Regions from separate parts of the Homo sapiens genome. Here regions 2, 3, 4, 5, 6 and 7 are each linked to region 1. Evidence: promoter capture Hi-C in 16 types of primary human blood cells and fetal thymus (Javierre and others, 2016). All regions are on one chromosome and are shown on one strand. Each heading gives the region's core, a stretch centred on a gene start or on the middle of the fragment in contact. The rest is flanking DNA. Distances are from core to core; before and after follow the strand shown.

Evidence for each region. The method cuts DNA at HindIII sites, captures the fragments that hold promoters and counts their contacts. A CHiCAGO score of 5 or more calls a contact.
Region 2: a fragment that was not itself captured here is called in contact with the fragment with the promoter of KRT84 in region 1 in 3 of 17 cell types (endothelial precursors, total CD8 T cells and M1 macrophages); the score reaches 5.6 in endothelial precursors.
Region 3: a contact is called between a fragment that was not itself captured here and the fragment with the promoter of KRT84 in region 1, in 3 of 17 cell types (non-activated CD4 T cells, endothelial precursors and M0 macrophages). The highest score is 6.6, in non-activated CD4 T cells.
Region 4: a fragment that was not itself captured here is called in contact with the fragment with the promoter of KRT84 in region 1 in 3 of 17 cell types (endothelial precursors, total CD8 T cells and M2 macrophages); the score reaches 6.3 in endothelial precursors.
Region 5: a contact is called between a fragment that was not itself captured here and the fragment with the promoter of KRT84 in region 1, in 1 of 17 cell types (endothelial precursors). The highest score is 5.6, in endothelial precursors.
Region 6: the fragment with the promoter of KRT1 here is called in contact with the fragment with the promoter of KRT84 in region 1 in 2 of 17 cell types (M2 macrophages and M1 macrophages); the score reaches 6.4 in M2 macrophages.
Region 7: a fragment that was not itself captured here is called in contact with the fragment with the promoter of KRT84 in region 1 in 1 of 17 cell types (M1 macrophages); the score reaches 5.6 in M1 macrophages.

What each region holds. Positions count from the first base shown.
Region 1 is chr12:52,384,258-52,387,020 of GRCh38, reverse strand. KRT84 (keratin 84) reads left to right here and starts at 1,369. Exons shown (of 9, transcript NM_033045.4): 1 at 1,369-1,981. The coding sequence starts at 1,436. The HindIII fragment of the contact is 9,508 bases long and covers 1-2,763 here.
Region 2 is chr12:52,818,019-52,820,781 of GRCh38, reverse strand. No RefSeq gene overlaps it. Among named protein-coding and RNA genes, the nearest start is that of KRT4, 5.3 kb to the right of the region's middle. RefSeq lists an enhancer at 2,062-2,563. The HindIII fragment of the contact is 1,770 bases long and covers 519-2,288 here.
Region 3 is chr12:52,798,217-52,800,979 of GRCh38, reverse strand. No RefSeq gene overlaps it. Among named protein-coding and RNA genes, the nearest start is that of KRT3, 3.5 kb to the right of the region's middle. The HindIII fragment of the contact is 5,805 bases long and covers 1-2,763 here.
Region 4 is chr12:52,780,322-52,783,084 of GRCh38, reverse strand. No RefSeq gene overlaps it. Among named protein-coding and RNA genes, the nearest start is that of KRT76, 4.4 kb to the right of the region's middle. The HindIII fragment of the contact is 1,580 bases long and covers 608-2,187 here.
Region 5 is chr12:52,708,548-52,711,310 of GRCh38, reverse strand. No RefSeq gene overlaps it. Among named protein-coding and RNA genes, the nearest start is that of KRT77, 6.4 kb to the right of the region's middle. The HindIII fragment of the contact is 2,732 bases long and covers 78-2,763 here.
Region 6 is chr12:52,679,055-52,681,817 of GRCh38, reverse strand. KRT1 (keratin 1) reads left to right here and starts at 1,411. Exons shown (of 9, transcript NM_006121.4): 1 at 1,411-2,060. The coding sequence starts at 1,470. The HindIII fragment of the contact is 12,025 bases long and covers 871-2,763 here.
Region 7 is chr12:52,662,944-52,665,706 of GRCh38, reverse strand. No RefSeq gene overlaps it. Among named protein-coding and RNA genes, the nearest start is that of KRT2, 12 kb to the right of the region's middle. The HindIII fragment of the contact is 6,496 bases long and covers 1-2,763 here.

The sequences.
Region 1 (2,763 bases), core at 120-2,619:
TATTGTTTTTCTGCTTCATTTCCCCCTTAGACATACAGCTGATAGCTGGAAAAAGAAAATACCGCACAAATGAGCTGGATGCTTCTGGTCAAAAGCATACATCCCCTTCCAAGTGGAATTGCAAGCATCCCAAAGAATCTCAAGCGTCCAGTCAAACATGAGTTCCCCTGGGCAAAGGATGCACTAGAATAGAAAAGGTAAACACCAGCCTGGCTCAGGGTCCTAAAAGAGCTGCAATATTGCTAACAATGATAATATTCAGCTGCTGAGAACTTTTCCTTTTCTATCCAGATGTATATTGCTTTGTGTCTCTCTATCCTAACCAAAGATTCATCAATAATTCAAGGAACCTAAATGGACAGGCCCATAAATCACACCTATGGTATATTTGGGGGCTAAAAATCATGTAGTTAGCTTTCTATACAGAAACTTTCCAATGCTTTGGCCTCAAATCATGCCACAAAGTGTTGACTGCTGGAAATCCTCAAGATAAATGTTCTGCTGGGCATGGTGGTGGATGCCTGTAGTCCCAGCTATCTGGGAGGCGGAGGCGGGAGGATCACTTGAGCCCAGGAGTTCAAGACCAGCCTGGGCAACTAGATCATGTCTCTAAAAAAAAAAAAAAAATTTAAGATAAATCTTCCCCTACTACCATGAAGATAGAGACTGTCTTTGTAATCTCTGTACCCTCAGCAGCAAGCACACTGCTGGATACATAGCAGGCACTCTAAAACTGTAGAATGAATGAATATCTCTGAGTGTCTCAAATCACAGATGTGTCTACACTAGCCCAAATGAGCTTTACTGTAGATTCAACTCTTGTATACTAAACAGCCATATTGGATAAAACATGGCAGAAGGTTTTTTGATGATTTAATTGATTTGCAGAAATGCAACAAACTGTATTTTCTCCATATCACTTCTTACTTGGAGATGTGCACACACTCCCACCTCTTTAGGGGGTTATATCTTCATGGATGCATCCCATGTGAGCCTCTTGCTGGAGCTGTCGCCATCCTAACTTTCTGGTGGTTAGCCACACTCACAGTGAAAAAACCTATTGCATTTATGACCAAAGCAAATTAATGTCCCCTTAATGGCAATTGTGGTAGACTTATAGGGAAAAAAAAGACTATAATGTTTATATGTTTATGTGTTTTTAATGTTTATTGGTTTGCTGTTACAGCCCTCATCCCAATGAGACTAGGTGTGTCTGAGTTAACTCATTGTCAAGGAGGTTATAGGCATGCAGAGTTTCTGCTAACTACCCAAGCTCATAAATGCCTGCAAATGGATTTTTTCATTTTTATGGGGCCAAGCCTCAGATCACCACACACATAAAAGGGGTGCAAGGGTTCCACTGGCCTCAGAGGGACTCCCAGCTCCAGCTCACCCATTCTACACTTGCTCTTTTGCTCCCAACCAGGAAGCCATCATGTCTTGCCGCTCCTACCGAGTCAGCTCTGGTCACCGGGTGGGCAACTTCAGCTCTTGTTCAGCAATGACACCACAGAACCTGAATCGCTTCCGGGCCAACTCTGTCTCCTGTTGGAGTGGGCCTGGATTCCGGGGCCTTGGCAGCTTTGGTAGTCGGAGTGTCATCACCTTTGGATCGTACTCACCCCGGATAGCAGCTGTAGGCTCTCGGCCCATCCACTGTGGAGTCCGCTTTGGTGCTGGCTGTGGGATGGGTTTTGGTGATGGGAGAGGTGTTGGTCTGGGGCCTAGGGCTGACAGCTGTGTTGGTCTGGGCTTTGGAGCTGGCAGTGGCATTGGCTATGGCTTTGGTGGCCCTGGCTTTGGTTACAGAGTTGGAGGGGTTGGAGTCCCAGCAGCCCCATCTATCACAGCTGTGACTGTGAACAAGAGCCTACTGACCCCCCTCAACCTGGAGATTGACCCCAATGCCCAGAGGGTGAAGAAGGATGAGAAGGAGCAAATCAAGACCCTCAACAACAAGTTTGCCTCCTTCATTGACAAGGTACCTATGATAGCTGAATCTCTGGGTCTAGGAATATTACAGCCAAAATGCGCTAGAGTGCTCTTTCCCTTAAAAAGAACTGGCCCGGTTCTGGGGACTTGACCTTGACCTCAGATCTTTCAAGTGCCTACCTCAGGCATTGTGGTATGCTTTATGGGTTGCTCTGCTGCAGAGCAAGGCCAAGCCAGAGGACGAGCTGCATGGTGGGATAGATTCCGACAGTGTTGATATCTTCTGGAGGACAGAGGAGCATCCAGCCAAACTCGAGGGCATCTCGACAAACTAAGATGTTGCATCTGGTCACTTAGAAATGTCTCTGAAACAGGCTGGAAACACTGGGACTTTAGCCAGGTGTTGGCTGGTATATGCTTAAGAGGTTTTATTCTTTGAGATCCTTTTGTTCCTTATGAAGTTTTCATAGTTTCTGAGGCTGAGTGGCCTCATCTATTCAGGCTTAGAAAAGTAGAGAATGGAGTTGAGTAATTAAAAAAAGAAGAAGAATTCATACCCCCACATGGGGTATCAAAATTCGGCCAAGTTGCCTAGATTCAGGGAAATTGCAGGGAATGACCACTGGTAGTCACTGGCTTCCAGGCAGATGAGTGGGAACAGTGATGTGGATAACCCAAAAGAACTGACATCCCACACACCATGTCTATGTGGAGATGGAATGGTTATGTCTGAGAATGAAGGATAACCTCTGTAAGTTTTGGGTTCTTCCTCTCTAAAATGAGGGGCTGGGGTAAAGGGTCTGTAAGTTCTCTTCCAGCTCTACACATAGC
Region 2 (2,763 bases), core at 154-2,653, 430 kb before region 1:
CCCTAGGTTCAGTAGTGGGCATGTGGTGTTCCAGTTTACAGGTGAGGCGATTCACGCTCACAGAAGTGACCTCTCATGCTGTAGTCATCCAGCTGGCTGGAGGTGGGTCAGTAGTGTCCAGGGCTGCAATTTCAAGCCCTCTGTCCTGTCACCCCAGAAGCTACCTCCGTCCTACTCCTGCCTCCATCACTCGCCAAATCTTACTGCTCCTCCCTCCATGCGTCTCTTGGTATCACCTTCTTTCCTCTTCATCTCCACAGTTCTCTACTTTGAGTCTGGACCCCACTCCTCAAGCTGTACCCAAGTGATTCCCCAATTGGCTGGCCTCTCAACCCTGCACCTCTCAGGCCCTCCCCACCCTGCTACCAAACCAGTTGGCCCGACCCGAGGCTGTCACCACTCCGCTCCCTTCCTTGGCAACCTTAGGGCTCCTGGCAGTTGCTGGGATGCATCCCACACTCTTCCGGCCTGATCACTCTGTCCTCCTCAGAGGAGCCCCGAAGAGCCCTGAGAAAGCTTCCTCCAGGGCTGTGGAAGGCCAGCAGAGGGATTTTCAGCCAAACCCTAACCTCCAGCTTAGGAACACAAAGGCCTAGCGGTTTAGGGTCAGCTCTGCCTCACCAGCTTGGGTGGTCTCTAGCTTCCCTTCTCAGACAGATGGAGTATAGTCCACCCCATGTACAACACTTTGAGGAATACTTGCTAATGCTCACTGAGTGCCAACTGTGTGCCAGAACTGCTGTCAAGCCTTTAACTGATTCTCTTCACAACAGCCTATAATATAAATACTATTATCATTCTAATTTTGCCTATAAGGAAAATAAGGCACAGAGTGGTTAAGTAACTTGCCTAAGGTCACACAGCTAGGAAGTAGCAGAGCTAGGTGTGGAATCCAAGCAATCTGGTTCCATAGCCCAAGCTCTTAAGCACCAGGTTATTTTGCTTATATAGAAAAAGGAATGGAGACCTGGGGATGCTGGAGCTAGAAGGGGCATTGGATGTAATCGACTCCAAACTTTTTATTTCATAGATAAGAAAACAGGTTGAGGAAGGGGAAGAATGTATCCAAAGCCACGGTAACTTAGTGGCAGTGTTAAAAAAAAAATCAGTTTTAGTGAGATCATAGGCCAGGTGTTGTGGCTCCTGCCTGTAATTCCAGCACTTTGGGAGGCTGAGGCAGGTGGATCACTTGAGCCCAGGAGTTCAAGACAAGCCTGGCAACATGGTGAGACTCTGCCTCTACAAAAAAATACAAAAATTAGCTGGGTTTGATAATGCATACCTGTAGTCCCAGCTACTTGGGAGGCTGAGGTGGGAGGATCACTTGAGGCTGTTGAGGCTGCGGTGAGCTGTGATTGCACCATTGCACTCCAGCCTGGGTGACAGAGGGAGACCCTGTCTCAAAAAAATTATATTTAGGGCTCAAAAACTGAACAATAGAAACTTTTGATTGTCATGGAAAAAAGCCTCAGAGATTATACTGCAGCCCAGGGGGGCCCACCAACAATAATGCGCTGCTTAGACATACTTGTCGAAGGAGGGGAATGGCCCAGACCCAGGGGTTTCCAAACTGAGGACCCTAAGGGCTGCTTTCAGGGGTGCAGGGGGAGGTCAGCAGGTGAGAAGGATCATGGTCCCTCCTCTGCACCAACTGGATCATCTCTCCTTATCTGTTTTACTCATGAGGCTGTGCACGTGATTTTGTTTATGAGGGTGCTTTTGCTGCCAGAACATGCTGGGAAGCCCCTGCCTGTATATGCCTGGGGTAGGAGGCCAGCAGGGGCAGCTCTCCGGCCCGGGGAAAGAGGAGCCCCTGGGTACAGACCCCCATACCTGGCTCTCAGGAGTGCCCGTCCTCTCATTGCCCTCACTGGCCTCTCCCTAAAACGCTGATGGCCCTTTTCTGCAGAATCTCTGATCCCCGTGTTGTCTCTGGTTCCCCAAGAATGACTCAGGCCCGGTGGGGCAGTTGAGGTTGGGTGACCGAATGGAGTGAGGGTGCCCGCCTGGCCAGGGAGGGCAGGAGCACTTTCCCACACCACACAGTGGGTTTGGAGATGAGAGTGACAGAAGCCCTCAGGATCCCTTAATCCCAGGGCTGAATGTAAGGGCTTGCCTCCCTTACCCAGAAAGCCCTGAGCAAACACTCCCTCCGCCTGGCTCCACACCCCTGTCGGCTGCTCATCCCTCTGTGAAAAGATTGGGAACAGCTGCCAAACAAGGAAGGGTCACCGAGGGCAGTAGCAGAATCTGCGTGTGGAGGTCTGGGGAGGGGCAGGGGACAAGCTTCCAGCTGTGGCTGCTGGGTAGTGGCGCCTTGTTCAGCCACCTGCCTCTGGCCCACATATGAAGGCAATGTCTTTCCCCGTTTTCAGGGAAAGAAACTCATCTCTCTTTCTCTCTCACTCTAGGGTGTAAAGGCGCTCTTGCATAGGAAGTTCTTCCTTAGGTCTACCTTCGGTTTCTCAGGCTCAGTTTGAAGATTTTGTGAGCTTCTTGCAATTCTGATTTAATAATAAGGACACAGAATGTGGCTCTAGACTAGAACTTTCTTCTTGTTTGGATTGGGTTTATGGTAGGGTTTGTCATGAAATTAATTTGGATTTAGTTAATTGGAGGATACAAAACTGGCCCCTCAGGACAGTGTCATACCTTATTGGGTACTTGTAAGGACAGGGCCACATCAACCAAGCAACTGACCATGTGCTGAGGGTAAGGACAAAAAGGAGCGGAGCTGCATCTGCAGAGCTTGCAGCCTGCTGG
Region 3 (2,763 bases), core at 105-2,604, 410 kb before region 1:
TAAATAGAGGCTTATTCAGGGCAAACCTTTTTTTTTTTTCATTTTTACTGTTATGTTTATTTTCTCTGTAAGTGCTTTGTGAATGCTGTCCCTTCAGTTTATTCTTACAGCAGGACAAGGAAGTGAGTTATTTAAAACTAGGAAGCTGGCTGGCATGGTGGCCCATGTTTATAATCCCAGCACTTTGGGAGGCTGAAGTGGGCGGATTGCTTGAGCCTAGGAGTTCAAGACCAACCTGGGTTACATAGAGAGACTCTGTCTCTACAAAAAAAATAAAAAAAGTGTTAGCTGGGCATGGTGGTGCATGCCAGTGTCCCAGCTACTTGGGAGGCTGAGGTGGGAGGATGGCTTGAGCCTGGGAGGTTGAGGTTGCAGTGAGCTGAGATTGCACCACTGCACTCCAGCCTCAGCAACAGAGTGAGGGGCTCTCTCTCTCTCTCTCAAAACAAAAACAAAAAAACAAAAACAACCCCCTGCCCCCACCACCAACAAACCCATGCCTTACCATTCCTCCTCCCCAGGCAGGATTGATGGAAGTCAAGAGCTAAAGAAGGGAACAGAATCTTAGCTTGCATTGAAAGAAGCACAGTGCCCCCATCACAGACAGGAAGGGGCTTCTTATTAGTTCTGGTGCACATGAAGCCACCTTAAGTATCCTATCTTAGCAAGGCACTGTAGTTTTAAGAGGTCCATTAACATATTAAAGTGGGTGCAGAGAAGATTCCCGGAAACCATCTGTACTGAGGACTGGGAGAAACAACTGGGTCTATCTAACTGGGAGGTTGGTGTCTGTGAATTCCACAGTATTTTCTAATATTGGAAGGGTTGTGATACAGAAACCAGGGGAGTGTGTGTGTTTTACTATGGAAGGCCAGGCAAGAGCAAATTCATCGCAACTCAGTTCCCATCTGCTGAAGGCCTGCCAGGGCCACAGGCTGATGGACACAAAGGCAGGGAAGACAGGTGGTAACAGTGCTCAGTGGGGAATCTCAGCTGGGGGCAGGTGTCCAGCCGTGGAAGGGGCAGGACCTTGAGACCTGAGGCTGAGAGGCCCCAGTTAGGGTTGCTGTTGTGTCAGGACTGCAAGGATTCTGAGAATGCACATGGATGCAAGTGTCTCTCGACTGAGTGAATAATGTGTCTTTTTATGTATATGTATTACCACTTTCAAATGTATATGACTATGAACTGCACTTTTATTTAAAAGTGTTGCTAAATTCATAGTAAAAAATGTATATTCTCAAAGGATACTGGAAGTATGAGTTCTGACATGTGTGAAGGTCAATGTAATTTTTTGTGTGTTAAAAGGGGCCTTCACAAGCAGAGAGGTATGGGTGCCATGCCATGACGGACAGGTGACTGGGCCTCCTGCTGCTGACCACAACTTCACTGATCCTTTAAGAGGAGTTAGGCTCCCATGAAATGGAGTGGAAGGCACGAAAGCTAGATCCTTGAAGACCTTCCTTGGGTCAGGGTGGGGTCTTGCTGGCCTGGGCAAGTTAGGAGATTTGATGAATCGCCTTCCATGGGGATCCTGAAGAGTAGGAGTGGCCAGGTGAATTCTGCCTCGAGGTAGAGGAGTGGACTGGAGAGCCTCCTGGCCGTAGCACCCTATGAGTCTCGATTTTACACATTGCAATCCAGTGACTCACTCTTTTCTCCAGGGAGTAAACACTTAGGGCGCTTAGTTAATAAACTTCAGATAATTCAAGTGTTGGGGATGACTGTAAACCAACTCTGTTTTCTCAAAGTGTTTATTAGGCCCTACAAGTTTAGAGGGATGGGCCCAACCAATAAGAATTTCAACTCACTGATTATCTCCTCCCCTTCCACCACTTCCTTCACTCACAGCTCTGATCAGAATTGACAATCTAGTCCCACGAATGTATTCCCCAATCTTTGTTTTGCTCCCTGTCCTCTCAAAGGTCAAGCCATGTCTTCTCTGCTATCCCAACCCCAAGAGTAAGTATAGATTATGCCCTTCTTCCTTTTTCTTCCACCATCTGCTGGGGAGGTCCCCGACCCAGGACTAGCTGATGACAGCAGTGGTTGTGATGTTGCTTCTCAAAGATTCTTCTCCAAGATAATTCCCTCTAAAGGAATGACAAGCATGGCTCAGAATCAGTGGGCTCTGGCAATGACTAAGATCTCCCCCCATTGGGGCACTAAGTACCCTGAATCACTATGGGTTTAGGAATTCCTAGAGACTCATTGCCCTGGACTCTAGACCCCACACCAGACCAAGCAGCAGCCTCATTTCTGTCTGGCATAAAGGCAGGTCCTCCATCCTGCTCTCTTAGATATTATAAGGAAAAATATGGTCTAATTTTTGTGATATGTTTCCTTTTTTCTTTTTCTTTTGTTGAGAAGGGTCTTGTTCTGTTGTCCAGGCTGGAGTGCCATGGTGCAATCATAGCTCAGTGCAGCCTTGACCTCCCAGGATCAAGTGATCCTCCGACCTTAGCCTCCCAAGCACCTGGGTCTACAGGCACATGACACCACACCCGGCTAATCTTTGTATTTTTTTCATAGAGATGGTGTTTTGCCATGTTTCCAAGGCTGGTCTGAAACTCCTGGGCTCAAGCAATCTGCCCACCTCAGCCTTGCAAAGTATTGGGGTTACAGGCGTGAGCCACCACATTTGGCCTTGTGATATGTTTCTTAAAACACTGGCAGATATTTCATTCATCTAGCTATGTTCCTGTGAGATCTAGAGGGTCAGAGATGATTGATCATCTTTTATGGTTAATGATGCTGAAATGC
Region 4 (2,763 bases), core at 148-2,647, 400 kb before region 1:
GTGTGGTGGCAGGCGCCTGTAATCCCAGCTACTCGGGAGGCTGAGGCAGGAGAATCTCCTGAACCTGGGAGGCAGAGGTTGCAGTGAGCCTTGATTGTGCCACTGCACTCCAGCCTGAGCAACAGAGTGAGACTCCGTCTCAAAAAAAAAAAAAAAAAAAAAAAGTGAAAGAGAAGATTGTGGCTAATCATTCCTGTGGGCCAAGTGGTCAACTCCAACATCTAAGACCCAGCAAGCAGCTAAGCTCAGCGCAAACTCCTGGCCTCTTGCTCTTTCTCCAACAGGGTGAAGACCTTTTACATTGCAGATGATGGAGCGGCTCTTGTCATCTATAAATTCCATGCACACCCATGTGTTCTGTCCCTGAGAGACTGTCCTGACCAGTGCCTTGGTGGCCCTGGCTAGCATGGTAGGTTGCACATGGCTGGTGTCCAACCTATCATGTGGTGGTCAGGTGGAGAGAATATTGGTGGGTTCTTTACATGTCAAAGTGGACTTTTCACTTTGGGATGGTGTAATTTGACTTGCTGAAAGTCTATGCAGAAGAAAAGCATTCACGAATTTACGACAGGCTTTGGGATTGGACAGTCTGATTAAAATCCAAGCTTGCAAGTGAATTGACTTGAGGCAAGTTAATTAACCTCATGCCCTTATCTGTAAAATGTGAATGAAAATTCCTACCTTACAAAGTTTTTGTGACAATTAGAAATGACACATGTAAACAACCTGTCAGTGACTTGTATATGTTAGGCAGTCAATGTTAGCTGTTTTAAAATTCTATTCACAGATGGGCAATAGGAGTTAAGATTTGAAAGAGGAAATTGTTTTCACTGAAACATAGTCCCCACACCTCTAAAAAGTATGTAGTAGATCAATAAGTATTTGCTGATTGATAGATTGCATTACTGACGAGGCCCTGTAGTGGGAAAATGGCTTGGCCAGACATGGGAAAATGGCTTTTATGTAATTCTCAATACAGACAGTATGATTCTTTGCAACTTGTTGCAAAATAATCAAAGACTTCACTGTTGCCTTGACCCTAAACTGGGCTACCCCTTAGAACTCCTCCTTCCTCTTCAGCTTCCAAACTGACACCTTCTAGGAGGGCTTCCTACATTGACATCATCATCACAAGGGCTGCCAAGTGTTGAGCACCTGCTTTGTGTAAGGGTTTTCCAACTTTACCTCCTACAGTCCCCACTGCAACTCTATGAGGAGGCTGTGCTAACTCCCATTTGCTGAATGGGAAACTGAGGTCCAGAGGGTAAAATGTCTTGCCTGATGCCATGCAACTGGAAAGTGGCAAGGCTGGGATCTGAACACAGGCTCGTCTAATTCCAAGGCTTCCATATTTTCCACTCTTTCAAGCTGCAAGGGAAGAGAGGAGGAGATGAAGTTATTTGAGTTCCAGAAAATCCAGCATGCCCATGAAATATCCACGGTTTTTGGAAATATTCAGCCAAATCCATTTATTGGTGAGAAATATTCATTGACAGGAGAGCTTGTCTTTAGAGAACCTGTTCAGTTTTCGGCGTCCCAGTGCCCTTCTTGCTGCATCTTCAACCCCAGGCCTTAGTCTGCTCTCAGTTTCCTGCTATCTCACTTGGAGCAAGTGCTTTCTCTCCAGGGATGAGGAGCTCACTTGGAGCAAGTGCTCTTTCTCCAGGAATGAGGATGTCTCCTTATGCCCTAATCCTCTGATTGGTCTATCTGCACTGGTCTATCTGCACATTCTCATCCATCCTGGATGGCTAGTTGGACTAGCGTTTCCCGAGTATACTTGACAGCATGTTAGTAGATGTTAAGATAGAAAGATTTTGTTGTTAAATTTGGGAAGCTGTGATTAAATTAAGGCAAAGACATTATTTTCTATAGGACTTCTTTGGGCTTTTAATATACTAAACAACTTTACTAAAATCCCAGGAAAGAGCTATAGATTTTTCATTTCCCAAATTTATGTAATCACAGAACCTTTTAATCAGGGCCATCTTGGGAGATAGAATTCTGCCCTGCATAAGCCCTGGGAGAGATCCAAGTACCAGATAAAGAATGAGGGGTGAGCTGGTGTGTATTTTAATCAAGTGTAGAGATAAGACCAGAATCAGAACAAATTGTGGTTGCTAACAGCTAAGACCTTAGTAACATAAGGACTTAGTTGTACTTAGATGTTTGCTTCTTTATCAAGCTTTCACTATAAATCTTGCTCTATATGGTAATTATTTTTACTGTTCATTGGTTAAAATTGCTTCACTAGTGACAAGCTTTTATTTCAACAAGAAAAGAATGCTAATTCCTAGTCCAGGGGCAGCATACCCAGAACGTTAATTATTCTTTTTTTATTTTTGAGAACAAATTGGTGATTATCTTGAAAATGGGATCTGCGAACCTCCATGGAGAAAGAGGCAGCAGCCATGGCTCCCTCATCCTCAGCAGATGGTGGTGGAGAGGGATGACTGCTCACTTTGGCCAAGGATAATGACTACTGTCTCATGATGCATTCCTCCACTCATAATTATGTTACAGGCAATCTGAAGTCTTCTCACTGCAGTTGACTACCAGAGAGCAATTTGGTTAGAGGGAATAACTCCTTGGTTTTAGTGCCCCCAATTTTATAGGTGGGGAAATAAAAATCCAGGGTGCTCAGCCATCTGGCAAGCTTTACACAGAATGTTCTGGCAGTGAGGGATTGGAACTCAGATTGCTGGCAGTAGGCAGACCCTTTAGATACTGTTCTGAAAGATCCTACAGTGAATGAGGGCAATG
Region 5 (2,763 bases), core at 194-2,693, 320 kb before region 1:
GAGGAGATACTTTTGGCTTGTTTCAAACTCATCAATAAATTGCCATCTTCCTTTAAATAGATGATTAAAGAAAAGCTTGTCTGCATCTTTTATATGATTTACAATATATTACAGGGCCACAGTTTCCTGCTTATGGTGACTTTCTAATTTAAGGGAAGCTGGATGGAAAATGCAGTTTGGTTAATAGAAATTTACTTTTGTAATAATGTAATAATTGCTAAAGTAGATGATCTCTTGTTATTTGCCTGACATGTGCTGAGCTTTTTCTGAATTAACCCATCTAATCTTCACAGCCCTGTGAGGTAGGCAGTGTTATGGCCTCTGCTTCACAAAAGAGGAAATGAAAGCGCAGAGAGATGAATGAACTTATCCAAGGTCATGTAACTAGAAGGGATGGCACCAGGATTCAAACTCCAGAAGGCCTAACCTCAAAGCCCTCCTAAATTGCCCCATAAAGCAGAAGATAAGATAGTACAGCAAGAAACTCTCAGGCTTTGGAACCCAGCTGCTAGGTGTAATCTGGGCCCACTCCTTACCAGGAGTGTGTGACCTTGAGCCACCCTCCAGACCCCTCACCCAAAAGTCATCAGTAAAATGCAGTTGTGTGGATGGAATCATGTCATCTGTTTAATTCTTGGCACATTGTAAGAGCTCAATAAAAGGTCATTACTAATTATGGCCAGTGTTTCAGGAACCTGTCTATTCTTTAAATGAAGAGAATAATACACTGCAAATTCCTTATGGTTATAAAGCACTGTAATCTCTCCCATCATGGTCAAGTGAGACACGAACCTGGAATTGATGGCAGGTCTCATATTACCCTCAGGGACTTGGAATGCTGGTCCCACCCCACCACTAACTACCCCTGTAACCTTGAGACTGGCCCGTCCTCTTTGATCCAACATATAGAAGCATTCTCTGCCCAGACAGCACCATTCCTCCGCTGGGACCTCACTGTTTCTTTTGGAATTCAATCCAAGTCTAACCTGTAGCCTTATTTTCCTTTGGGGCCACACCTGCCTAGCTGCTCCCTTTGCTTCAGAGACAAAAGAGTTGCCAGGCTGAGGCACAAGAATCACTTGAACCCGGGAGGTGGAGGTTGCAGTGAGCATTTCAGCCTGGGTGAATTATAAACAAATAAATGGTTGTATAAATAAATAAATAAATGATTGTATAAATAGTCATGACTTCCAGTATGTTGGATGGAAGAGCTTTGACACGCTTGGCACAATATTGTCTCTGGACCTTTGCCGTGGGAATTTGCAAGCTGCCCTTAGTGAGGCCTCTAGACAATATCCAGGCCCAAAAGCACCTATTGGGTTTGCCGAGAAGGAAGGAGACTGCCCGATTCTTATGCTCTAGGCAGACACTGAGATTCTAGTTAAAGGGATGTCAAAGTGGTGTCCAGGCTAGTTTTGGGCCTCAGTAGGAGCTTAAGGCCCTAGGTGTTGCCCCAAACACACACCCCAACCCAGAAATCAGAGGATTCACCAGGGATGTTCCTGTGTGCCTGGCACCACCTTCTCATGCCTGCGTGCAGGCTTGTTAGAGATTGAAGGTGGAACGCCCCATATAGTCATCTCTCCCAGGCTGCAGGAGCACAGAGGCACCTGGGAATTTCACATAGGCCTCCTTATTCTTTCTGAATTCGGGGGAGGGTAGCCAAGTTCTCATTCTATCTGCACCACCAACTTTTTTGGGTAACTTTGGCCAAGTCCCTGTCTTTGTACCCATTTCTTCCTTGTAAAATGAAGGACTGGGCTGATACCGTCCATCATATGTTTGGCTGTGATGCTGTTACGCAGGAAGAAGAGTGGGCCAAGGGTGGGGAAGCCAAGTCTAGCAGCTTCTATTCAGCTCCAATAGGTTTCTCTCCGATATGTGTCACATCACTGCCTCCCCTGTGCTGACGACAGGTCAAAAGGCTCTCATTTCAAGGAGGTTAAAGGCCCCCATTCCTAGACCGGGGCTGCAGCTCTCCACTCTCTTCTTGGTGGGGACTGGTGAGTGAGAGTCTCTCTCCCTTCCTTTTTCCAGCCCCACGCCCCTGACACACCTCTGTGATATCCACCTCCAGACCCTGGGAAATGTAGGGTGAGGTGGGGGATAGAGCTTTGGGAGCTGCTCCTGCTGGTCATGCCAGCAGCTCTTCTGAACCCTGCTTCCCGCTGCTGTCTGGAACTGTGATCCAGGTGGCTGATAGTTGCTCTGGGCCTCACCTTCTTGGCAGCCCTGGGTTTCAGTAACTGGGAGATGGGCTGGGTGAGCTGCAGCCTTCAACTAACTTCCCACTTTCCTTTTAAGGTGGCAGGTGGGGAGAGGAGGAAGCGGGCACATCTCTCTCCAACGACCCCATCTCTTCTGCAATACATGTAGGTTCTGAAGTGGGAATGCGCGGGTTCAAATCTCCATTCCACTATTTTCATTAGTGTATTCTTTGACAAGATTCTCTTTCCAAGTCTCACTTTCTCCATTTGCAAAATGAACATAGTAAGAATATCTTCCTTATGATGTTGGTATTTAGATTTCACGAGACCTTCCATGTTATAGACAGCACAGTGCATGGTCCATGGAAATCACCTGGTGAAGTTCACTATTATGATAATGATTGTTACTCCTATCTGTGTCCTTAGACTGAATGGAATCTAAAGAGGCTGTTTCATTTGTCCTGTTTCCTCCAGGTCAGTGGTCTCCAAACTTGCTGCACATTAAAACCACCTTTTAAAAATTCTAAAGTCCAGACCATAGCCCCAGACCAATTAA
Region 6 (2,763 bases), core at 162-2,661, 290 kb before region 1:
CAAAATCTCCTTCTCAGTGTGAATTGAAGAAACATTTTCCAAGACTTGCATGTGCCAGGAGCCAAGGACTCAGAGTGATAAAACAGGCCTTCTGCCCTCAGAGCTCTCTGTGGTGGGGCGCTTCCTGTGCTGTCTGGCTTTACACACAGCAGGCAGAATGACTTGAATTCGGCTGCTGTGCTGTCGTACAACATGCTGTTTAGGATCTTGCACATGATAGCTAGGTATTCTTGCTTCAAATCGCAGGCACCCCACTTACCAACTGTGTAGACTTGATCACGTTATTCAACCCCTGTGTCTCTGCTTCCTCATTTTACAAATGGGGAGAAAAATAGCATCTATCTCAAAGTTGTGAAAATTAAGCAAGTTAATACATATGTGCTACGTAGAACAGTGCCTGGTACATGGTCAGTTTTTGATACATGTTAGGTATTATCATTATTATCACCTCCAGAAACAATTTAAACTTCTCATATAAGGCTCTCCAGACACCTCTCATTGTCTTCCCTTCCAAATCTGCATTTATCTCTCTCTCTTTGCAGTCCAGTGTGAGGCTTGAATCACCTATCAAGCCTCACCTCCACCCCTGTGCTTTACAAAATGTCCTAGAGCTTCTATTTACTCGTCTCACTGCTCTGTGGGCTTTTTCACTCAAGGGCGTTTGCATGCTATCCATTGCTACCTGTTTTCTATTGCTGGTGTCTGTCTCCTGCTCTATCTTTGAAGAAAAGAAACAAGAAAAGGAATAACTGAGAAACAGAGAAAAAAAATGTCTCTCCCTTCTGGTTCTTCCAGACCACCCACTCATCCATCTTGTTCAATGACAGCTTCTCTTCCTTTAATTAATCACTGTGGTATATTTATAAAGCTTATATTTATGAAAGACCTTTTAATTTTTTAGTTATTAAAGCCCTTTCTCTTTGTCAGGTTGTAACTGAGTGAGCTCTGGAGTTTGGAAAGAAGATCTTAGAAATGGGCCAGAGAGCTCCTTCTGAGATCCAAGCACGGGGAATTGCACCTGCTGTGCATGGTAAGAGAGTGTGCTTGGTAGCTCACAAAGGCAAGGTGAGAATAGAAACTTTCATGCCTTTTTGATGGGGGTTATGAAATCCTACCAAGAAACACCAGGTATCAGATGTGGGGTCCTGTTTTCCCAAAGCCACAAATGCTTGAAGGAAGATCTTGTGTGATAAAATAATTACCACATGAACCAATCTTGCATGCACAGCAATTTTGAGAGCCCATCCTGGGAGCTAGGTGTGTAGTGTTTATCGTATTGTTGAGGCTCGTAAAAATCTTGTATGGCTGCAGGCAAGCCAAACCCTTGACAGGCACTGCATCTCCGCTGACTCTAGAAGACCAAGCCCAATTTCTTCCCTGTATATAAGGGGAAGTCTCTATGCTTGGGGTAGAGGAGTGTTTAGCTCCTTCCCTTACTCTACCTTGCTCCTACTTTTCTCTAAGTCAACATGAGTCGACAGTTTAGTTCCAGGTCTGGGTACCGAAGTGGAGGGGGCTTCAGCTCTGGCTCTGCTGGGATCATCAACTACCAGCGCAGGACCACCAGCAGCTCCACACGCCGCAGTGGAGGAGGTGGTGGGAGATTTTCAAGCTGTGGTGGTGGTGGTGGTAGCTTTGGTGCTGGTGGTGGATTTGGAAGTCGGAGTCTTGTTAACCTTGGTGGCAGTAAAAGCATCTCCATAAGTGTGGCTAGAGGAGGTGGACGTGGTAGTGGCTTTGGTGGTGGTTATGGTGGTGGTGGCTTTGGTGGTGGTGGCTTTGGTGGTGGTGGCTTTGGTGGAGGTGGCATTGGGGGTGGTGGCTTTGGTGGTTTTGGCAGTGGTGGTGGTGGTTTTGGTGGAGGTGGCTTTGGGGGTGGTGGATATGGGGGTGGTTATGGTCCTGTCTGCCCTCCTGGTGGCATACAAGAAGTCACTATCAACCAGAGCCTTCTTCAGCCCCTCAATGTGGAGATTGACCCTGAGATCCAAAAGGTGAAGTCTCGAGAAAGGGAGCAAATCAAGTCACTCAACAACCAATTTGCCTCCTTCATTGACAAGGTGAGTTTCTCTCTCATTGCACTGGTAGGGCTGCCGCTGGTCCACTTGGGATTGGTGCAGTCAAAACACAGTAGGTTTGAACCTCAAGTTTCCATGTTTACATGATTAAAAGGATGTTTTGTGGAATGGTCTCCTAGGAGATATGTTAGATGTATGCTTGTGAATGGTGTTAATGACTCTCTCTTTGACAAAGGGTTCGTGGTCGACCTAAAGGTGGGTCAGTGTGACATTAACATTTAAGTGCTTTTTATTCAGCTCTTGAGCGGAATTGGGACTCATATCTGTTGAATGAAGATAATAGAAATGGGGCTAACTGAACTTTCCAGGGTGCAAGTGAGAACCCTGGAAAGGTCTTCCTAACCATAGAAAGGGAGTTGAGTGTGAACATAGTATAGAGTGTTATTGTAGCAGAAAACATGTGGTCAGTCAGTGCCAAACATCTTTTGCTGTCAGAGGGGAGCTCTGCCTTCTAATAATTTTACATTGGTACTGGATGAGGCTAGAGTTTTTTTATACTAATATCTCCAAAAATCAGCTCTAAAAAACTCAGATAAACCATTTTTTTAATTTTTTGCTTAATCATTAATAGTGCCAATCCAAGGTTATCCACAACAAATTTCAAATCCAATTTTGAATTTTCCTGATATACTTTTGAAATGTGTGTGTGTCCTGGGGATGCAAACCAGTTTTTATGGTAATATAC
Region 7 (2,763 bases), core at 138-2,637, 280 kb before region 1:
TTCTTTTGTGTTCCCATCCCATTTTGCCTGCCTGTGTCCTGGCATTAATAACATAATATAGGTAGCTGCAAGTATGTCTGTTCCAATGATTTGTGTTGTCCTAAATGGGTGAGTGGGTGGGGGGCATGCCTTATTTATTTCTGATTATTTCCGACAAAATGGGTTAAGAATCCCGCAACAAAACAACACATGGGGTCCTTCATTTTGGGCCCCTTGGGTGAGGAATGTTGTCCTAGAAAAGCACATTCAAAGGTCTGAAATGTGCATTTATTGGCTCTACTGGGTGTCTTTTCACCTGCCTAGACCATATTTCCTTCGGTAAAGGGGTTATAATGGAGCTGTCTCTGGCAGGCTGAGTTCAACTGGCCATCAGGAGTAGCTATGTCTGACCAATCCTGGGCCAGGGAGGGCCCTTGGTGACCATACCTACCTAGCGAGACAAGTAACTAGCAAGGTGAGCGGATAGGGACTGGGAGGATTTAGGGCCCAATCTCTTAGGAAAGACCTCAGGGGGTAGCAGTTCTCCTAAGTGGGGTCCCTGGGTGGGGTGGGAATATAGTCTATCACATGCTTCACCAGTGGAGAATTTCTGATGGGGCGAAAGTGGATGTCACAACAGTAGGTCCTAGGAGAACTGGACAGGGAAAGCTAAGTCAGGATGGCCTCGCCTCTGAGGTCTTTCTAGGGATGCCCTGGGATTCTTGACTTCAGCAAGTGCCTTACTTTTTACTAGGGAGATGAGCAAAGGGCCGTCGAAATTCAGCCACAGCCATAGACAGGTGCTGCCAGCTATGCCCTTGGGACGAGTGGCCTTTGGGATAGAAGACTGGGTGTCATCTCTTTAAGACCTGTCCTTAAGGTCACCAAATATAGAACAGGATGATTAAACATGCATGAGGACATCTGACCTTAGTTTAAAACCTTGTTTGGTATGATTTCTCCTCAAGACAGCTGTCCTTTGCCCAGACACCTACAGACATAGAGAAGATTCTCCTGAGGTTGCATGGGACAGAGGCCGGGCCCTGTTGGGGTGAGCTGGATGGAGGCAGGCTGGAGGCAGGTGGCAGGGCCATCAGAGTCCCGGCTGAGAACGTGCACAGGACACCTGTCATGGGCATCTGTTAGAGGTTGAGTGTCAACCAGTTTCTCATCTGGGTCAGGCTTAGGGGAGAGGGTACTGTCATTCTCCAAATACACCAAACTTTTACACATGTTTATGCTGTTAGGTCTTTGCAAATGTCTCTCCATTTTCCTGGAGTTCCTTTCTCCCTTTTCTGTGTGTAGACTCGAATTCATCCTTTAAAAGCCAGTTCATAGTTCCTCCTTCCTTGACTCCTGCCTCACTTTTCCATTTATGTTTCCTTGCTTCTGGCATATGATGTCCAGCGGTGTCCTGGAACCCTCCCGCACCAGCTTATGAAAGCCAATTGCCTGCTTTTGTTCCTAACTCCATGTTCAGTAACACCGTGTTGATTGCTTGAGATCAACCATGGTAGGTATATTTACTCCACAGAAATGAGTGCCTATGGAATAATGAATTTCTTGAGGACAAGGACTGTGTCTTCTTTACCTTTTCATCCTGAGGATGCAGCAGAATGTGTATTCTACTGCAGTGATTAGTGAGTTTTTGTTGGTCAATGAACTGGACAGAGTAAGCACTGGAGGAATACAGGAAGGAGGGGGCCACATCACACCAGGGTCATCAGTCAAGGGGAGAGAACATCTGAGTTGAGTTGGGTCTTGGAGGGTGGGTTGATGGTAATTTGGGTGAAGTAGGTGGGATCCCTGGGGATGTTACCAGTTCCAATGCAAGGGAACTCTTGTTTGGGAAGAAGATCCCGTGAGGCAAGCTCCATCTTGGCTTGTAGTCACCTGTCTGCATGCAGAGGTGTGCATGAGACAAGGTCTGAGGTGAGGCCATCTTGCCCCTTCCCTAGCTCTAGGTCCTTAATTAACCTCAATTATATGGACAGTGGGAAAGTGTGTGGCAAGGCAGGTTCTTAGCTTAGCTTTCCAGACCCAACAACCCAGACATTCCTACCCTCCACATTCCTACTCTGTATGCAATGGAGTAGTTGGTTAGTCCCTCTTGTTATCAGTCTTAAGTTTCTGCTAATGCCAGCACAGTTGATTTCCTTCTGTTCTACACCTGGTGGAGCTGGAAGAGCATTTTAGGCAAATGGAGAACATGATATCTGCCTCCATGTCCCTGAAGGAAGAACAAGCTGATCCTGTAGTTGTAACCATTCATTATTAGCATTCACAGATGAACATTTGGTTGTCTTCATTCACACTGTGCTAACTACTAAGGTGTGCTTGGGATCGGAGAAACCCCGCTGGGTTCCAAAGGGAGTGCCCTGTTTTTGGCTGCCTTCTTCTCAGTAATCCTCTCTCTTGGCTTGGTAATGGATAAACAAGGTTTCCATGATGAAGACATAAGGCTTTGAGGAAAGGTGGTGTGGCAGGAGCCTCATGCCACCTCATTGGCACTTCTGACCTGCCATGTGGCACCATGGAGGGGTGCACAGCTGGCAGGACCTGGGCAAATGCAGTCTGTCCTATAGCAGGACAGTCATCAAGCTGTGGTTACTAGGAGTCTGATAAAACAAGGATTGGACCATCTTGCCCCTGTAACCACCCTATTAGCTCCTTTCCTGGCCATCTGCAGGGATGTGAATAGGAGGAGCAGTTGGTCTGATGCCTTAACAGCCCTGGGGGAAGTGTGGCAATGACAGATTTAGAAGTTGTAAAGGACACAACTCC